Linked DNA regions of Homo sapiens: region 1 is linked to region 2. The links are contacts of gene promoters, found by promoter capture Hi-C in human tissues and cell types (Jung and others, 2019). All regions are on one chromosome and are shown on one strand. The core of a region is centred on a gene start or on the middle of the fragment in contact, and the rest is flanking DNA. Distances in the headings are between cores, read along the strand shown. Region 1 overlaps AK9 (adenylate kinase 9). Region 2 holds the start of AMD1 (adenosylmethionine decarboxylase 1).

Region 1 (3,312 bases), core at 192-2,691, 1.4 Mb before region 2:
CTGCCCTTCGTAAAGGCAGGGGCACTGAAGCAATGAAGTTTGGGTTTAACTGCTAAAGCAAACTCATCATACCCATAGGCTGAAGAGACCTGAGAACATTTATATCTTGTCAAGAATGAAAAAGCCAGTAGATTTCAGTTGGTGATAGAAAGATGGTAAATTACAGGCATTAAGAAATGGGCAGGGAGCAAAAATGGGGCTTAAGTTGCCAGCAAAACTTGGTAGCTATTGGCAACTCCCAGCCTCCTGAAAAAGTAAAGGCTTTTGAGGTTTATCCTAACTTTGGCAATAGGCTTCCAGCTTTTGTTTAAAAATCATTTTATTATGAAATATATAATGCAAAAGATATATAAAAAGGCTTCTAGTTTTTAATTAACATTATTGAATTTATAGGGATCAAAGAGCTAAACCATTTATCGTGGAGATTAAGAAATGAAGGCTCAGAGAAATTTACCCAAGGTTACACAGTTAATGGTCATATTTTTTATTTTTTAAGAGTCAATCTTGCTGTTTCCTATTCCAGATCCTTTTATATTGCTGCTGAAAATTGTTATTTTAAAAATCTCATTAAATTCAATTTAGTAAGTTTTCTTCTAGCATATACTGAGTCATATAATGACTCTAGATTTCATCCTTCTTAAAATTCCAGGTAATTTCCAATTATAAAATAAGGTATAAAGCATGCTTCAATGAATACTTAAGAAAAAGAAAAGAGGCAGCCAGTAAGTTGTTGCAAAATCCATTTATTTTATTGGGAAAATGATAGTATCTTATGTTCACAAAGTTCACAAACAGTTTTGTATGTAAAATGTATAACCCATATTTTGGTTTCATTTATAACAATGTTAAATGTCTTAAAGCTTTCTAACATTTAATGAGTAATTTTAACAGAGACTGACTTTTCTACTGAAAATGTTAAAAAGGAAAATAATACATTTATTAAATAAGTCACTTAACTTTTCTATATGGAATTATAAATAGAATGTTTATTTTGTTAAAGCATCAAAGTTCAGGCAAAGAGCAATACATTTTAAAATTGTATTAAAACTTGTTTCCATAAGAGTGCTCCTTCCTGGCTGGCAGACCTTTGAGTTCACCTGAAGTCTGGCAGCCATGGTACCTTGCTCAGGAGGCAAAAGTACTTCCAAGAGGCCCAGATTTTCAATCTACTTCTCTCAGTTTCCCTCTATCACTTTCAGATAACTCTTGAGATTCAGGCTGCTATCACCTAAGTAAACTACCCATTAATTGGGTCTATATTTCTGAGAGAGAGAAAGGTCTTTAACTTATGATCAAAGTCAATGGCTCTGAACTGAGGTTCCTTGTATTTTCTGGTCATCTTGGCACCCAAGTATGTTATGAGTTCACAACTCTCCATAAACTGCTCCATCTTCTTCTTATACTTTTTTCTTGTGTATTCGGAACCTTTGGGATTAAATGCTGTAGAAAATTTCACAGAACTGTGAATAATTTCTGCTAGTTAGTGAGTCATTAAATGAAAGAGACCTGGATGTGTGGTTGAGTTAGTTACACAGTTATGGTTGAGAAGATATCCAAATCCCAAATAAAATCTGGAGATTATTCTGTTTTAGGTCATAATTGCCTCTATTCACCCTTCTTTATGGCATGGATTATTGACAGCTGACTGTATTACTTAGTCCCTACTTTGAAAATAGAATTTTAACTTTGACATTTTATTTAAAATATTTGCCCTGTATTGTATTTGCTACTAACACTCTCTCTTTCTCTCTCACCAAGCAGGCAACACAGTTTAACAATCCTATTCATCACTTATACTACCATTAATGTTAAATTTGTTCTGAGTAGTAAATAATTAAAAAAGACATACCTTTGAGATGAAGTGCTATATATAGCAGTGCAGATCTCCTTATACTTAAAAAGGGGAACTTGGGCTTTAAGCATCCCGCTGCATTCATTGCTTTAATTAGAGAAGTTGCAATACCCTGCAGGGAGGGAACAATTCAAATTCTGTGTATACTTGAGTTTGGTTTCTTTTCTTAGTGCCAATAGATAAACAGGCAAATATTATTTCTTTGCCTCAAATAGCCCCCTGGAGTGGGGATGGGGCTTATAAATATGGTTAGATGACCAGTTAGCCAACAGGAAAGAAATACAAAATACATTTGATTAGGAAAAATGAAAATTACAAACTGACTTAGTGTCAGCTAAGTGATGGATAGGAGTATGGGCTTCATTACACAAGTCTCTCTATTTTTATATGTTTGACATTTTTTATAACAAAAAGTTAAGAGAAGAAAGAAGGGGACCCTAGGCTTTGCGATATCTTGGCCCGTATCTGCTTTCATTCTCAGAAATGGCCAGACTGCCTCCCACTCTGAGGACCCTTGGCTACCTGACACGTAATTCCAGAGACCACAGTAGTCAGTGCTGGCAAGATTCCAGAGCCCAGAAGAAGGTAAGAGGCCCTCCTGATAAAAATTGGCCTTCATGAGAATACTCCCCTATGGGTGGGCCTCATCTGGCATTTTGATGTTAAACAAGACTGAAGGCTAACCTTATAGGCAAGTTGAAAAAATCAGAGTGGTTAAGAATTGCTGACAAAGGTTTGACATTGTGCCCTAAGCATTTATTTTGTAGACTTTTTTTAAAAAAAGCTTTAAAAATAGTAAAAATAAAATAAAATAGTAAAGATAGCAGTTGGCTGCTGCTAAGTTTTGCTATTCTTAAAAAGTTATACTTGGATAAATAAAGTATAACTTAAATAGAATAAATAAATAACAGTAAATAAAACTGACTTTATCTGGATGTGGGGCAAAATATGGGCTTTTTGGTCTGGTTGTGTCACTGTAACTCTTTTGGGTAGTCAGTGAATGATCCTCTCACGGACTGAATCTGCACATTTCAAATTATGAAAAGTTTCACAGACATTGAAATTCAAAAGTAAGAACCAAACTACATATCTAATTCAAATGGAAACAATTTTGTGGCGCTCTACTTTCTCTTCACTTTAGTGCAGATATTTGGGAATTAGCTATGGAAGCAGGGGATTTTCACACATTTTATTTTAACCACTACATATAAACAAAATAGGCTGAGAGAATTTGCAGCTTAAAATCAGAAAACTCTGCCTTGAATTTTATTGTTCCCAAAATGAAAATTAGTGTTAAAAAGAAGAAGTCATTGTATTCTTCTAACATATATAACAGAAAATTAAGTAAAAGAACCTGTTCCAGATATCCAGGCAAAGGAAGACTAGTAAGAAGTATCGGTTCCCTTAATGGGGGAAGCTTGTGTGGAAGCTTCTGTTCCCAGTATTTCAGTGGCGACCTA
Region 2 (2,936 bases), core at 84-2,583:
GTTCTTGTAAGACAAGAGCTATTCTACAGGGTATCTAGAGTGCAAACCCAAACCATGTCTTTTTCAGTGGATTTTTCATGTTGACATCATCTTATTTCACTTTGGGGAAAGTTTTTTTCTAAGGATGATAGCGAAAAGTCCTTTTGTCTTGTGACAATAGCAATTTTTATGTCAGCTTGGGTTTTTTTCCTCCCATATTCCCAAGTAAAAGTAATAACTTTGTTACCAGTTTTGCCATCTGAGGTTAAACTGTTTGACCATGGCTTGACGACTATTTTATACTTAACACTTATAAAATATTAGACTGATAGTTATTTAAGTTACCACCAGTGATAGCTCTGGAATCCCTGTTTTATTAATTTCCAGGTAAATCCTTCTTAAGCACATGGGAAGATAGCACTGTAAATTTTGGGGGGTAAGGAGAACCTCCATCAATTAATACATCAGCTTGATAAAATTCAAAGAAAAACATGATCAAATAAGTTCAGATTATATTTAACACATTCAGTTTCTAGAAGTAGTTTTGCTGAATAAATTCCCACCAGTTGAGCTAATGGAGCAACGGAGCTGCCAGTGCTTCCCGGAGGCTGCTGTGCTCAGCCAATTCGGAGGCATGGCGAGCCACACGGTGGGAGGTGGGTAAAGCCGGGGCCCTCCAAGGCTGGGCGCCACGTTGCTTTTCTCTTCTGAAATAGGAAGACAATGCTTCTGGCTATTGTATAAACCAGCCGAGGACTGCTTTCATTCGCACATCAGCCAAGGCGTGAGCAGAATTAAAGCGCCTTCTAATTCGACCCCTGGCAACGTGCGCGTCACGGACAAATGTTTAGTTTTAACGCCTGGCTGCGTTCGCCTTGGGAAAACACACTTTTAAGAATGGCCAAGTACCTCAGCAGTCGCGGTGAACTGCACAAGATCAAAACCACCACGCCAACCCAGCGCTGGCCACCGTCCCCGCTGAACCCCGCCAACACCCCTAAGGACCCACCCATGTTTTCTGCTAATCATTTTTTTTTTCTAAACAGCTCTGCACAGCCTTTCCTCATTCCGTTCCCGCTCTCCCCACCCACTCTGCGTTCGATCCGAGGTTTCTAGTCCCCAGCTGGACATCACAGCACCAACTCCCACTCAGGAGCCGGCCAGAGCCCGAGCCGCAGCGCAGTGGGCAGCTCCCCGCGCTCTCCGCCAGGCCCTCGGCCAGCCAGCCGCCACTCGGCCGCGAGTGATTGACAGGCGGCAGCAGCTATAGGCCGTGGAGGTGGGACGATGCGTCACTTCCTGGTCTTTTGGGGGGAGCCGGGATATATAAGGGCGGTGCTCACGCAGCGCTCTCGCTTACACAGTATGGCCGGCGACATTAGCTAGCGCTCGCTCTACTCTCTCTAACGGGAAAGCAGCGGAATACAAGAGACTGAACTGTATCTGCCTCTATTTCCAAAAGACTCACGTTCAACTTTCGCTCACACAAAGCCGGGAAAATTTTATTAGTCCTTTTTTTAAAAAAAGTTAATATAAAATTATAGCAAAAAAAAAAAGGAACCTGAACTTTAGTAACACAGCTGGAACAATCCGCAGCGGCGGCGGCAGCGGCGGGAGAAGAGGTTTAATTTAGTTGATTTTCTGTGGTTGTTGGTTGTTCGCTAGTCTCACGGTGATGGAAGCTGCACATTTTTTCGAAGGGACCGAGAAGCTGCTGGAGGTTTGGTTCTCCCGGCAGCAGCCCGACGCAAACCAAGGATCTGGGGATCTTCGCACTATCCCAAGGTGGGTCCCCGGGGCGCTCGCTGACATCCGGGCCTGGGGGCTGTCGCCGCCGCCGAGGCACCAGCCACGGGTGGAGCCCGAGTTCCCTCAGCTTTCAGTTGGGGGCAAGTCTGCGGCCTGGGGTCGCTTCGGCGGCCTTGGAAGGTGCGCGGTTTGGGGGAGAGCGGCCATGTCCACGCGGGCCGGAGCCGGCTTCTCCCGCCGTGGTTGCCGCGCCTGGCATTGCCCTGGGGGAGGGGAGGAGGCCGGCGCGGCCGCGTGCTCAGGTAACGTCCCGCGCTGGGCGGCGGGCGGCGCGGCCCGGGGTGGTTTTGCGGCCCGCGCCTCCCGACATTTCCCTCCGTAGTAGTTGGCGGCAGGGGCCCCAGGTGGGGGTCGGGGGCGCCTGCGCGGGTTGCCTCCGGCAGGTGTGGCTCGGCGGGCTTAGTCAGGCGCTAATTCGGGCGTGCCGGCTTCGGGGAATGGAGGGCGGGAGCGGCGCTTGTTCTTGCCTCGGGCGCGGATAGGAGGGGCCCTCCCGGCCTTGTCTGAGGGGCTGGCGAAGAGGCCTCCCACCCGCGGCGGCCGCGGGCAGCATGTGGCGTTCGGGCGGCGGGGATTGGGCGGGAGCAGTTATGTCGCAGTGGCGGGGCCCCACCGCTCCCCTAACATGCTCTGCGCCAGAGCCTTTTCGGGGCGGCTGGGCAGACGGCGCAGTCCCCGGGGCCGCCCTCGACACGGCCGCTGAGGCCGCTGGGGGCTGCTCCCCAATCTCTTGACCTTGGGTTGTGTAACCTGCTACGGAGCCGGCGGAGCGGGGCGGGAGAGGTGCGGGTGGAGGGAGGCCCGCCTGCCCCAGGACATAATGCCTCTAATGCCTTAAGCTTGAGCAAAGGAATCTGGGGCCCACTCCCACTGCGGGCCGTCACGCGAGAGATACTTGGGCTGACCGCGCCGAAGAGGCGTTTTAGTTGGTATTGCTGTGGAAATCCATGCTTATATAAAAGCCCAGAGATCCCGTGGATGCTTAGGCCTTGTTCCTGGCGGCGGTCGCACCGGTGGCCACCAATGGCCTTCCTAGGCCCTGCCACCGGATCCCTGGCTCCTCTGCGCACGAGTGCGGCTAGGGTGGCGGTGCAGCGGAGTAACTGGCGTGGCCAGCTTCATTGAGAGGCGGCGACCAATGGGCTCCT

The links. Contacts are between HindIII fragments. The study calls those that stand out against the background at their distance.
Region 1: a contact is called between a fragment that was not itself captured here and the fragment with the promoter of AMD1 in region 2, in 1 of the 25 tissues and cell types used here (dorsolateral prefrontal cortex).

Annotation. Positions count from the first base shown.
Region 1 is chr6:109,492,132-109,495,443 of GRCh38, forward strand. It overlaps AK9 (adenylate kinase 9), which reads right to left. Exons shown (of 41, transcript NM_001145128.3): 39 at 3,207-3,309; 40 at 1,850-1,964; 41 at 724-1,440. The coding sequence ends at 1,238. ZBTB24-DT (ZBTB24 divergent transcript) reads left to right here. Exons shown (of 4, transcript NR_187591.1): 3 at 2,334-2,437. Among named protein-coding and RNA genes, the nearest start is that of ZBTB24-DT, 10 kb to the left of the region's middle. The HindIII fragment of the contact is 3,021 bases long and covers 1-2,952 here.
Region 2 is chr6:110,873,452-110,876,387 of GRCh38, forward strand. It overlaps AMD1 (adenosylmethionine decarboxylase 1), which reads left to right and starts at 1,334. Exons shown (of 9, transcript NM_001634.6): 1 at 1,334-1,764. The coding sequence starts at 1,655. RefSeq lists enhancers at 1,756-2,471, 2,472-2,936 and silencers at 1,909-2,158, 2,219-2,288, 2,319-2,508. The HindIII fragment of the contact is 7,288 bases long and covers 1-2,901 here.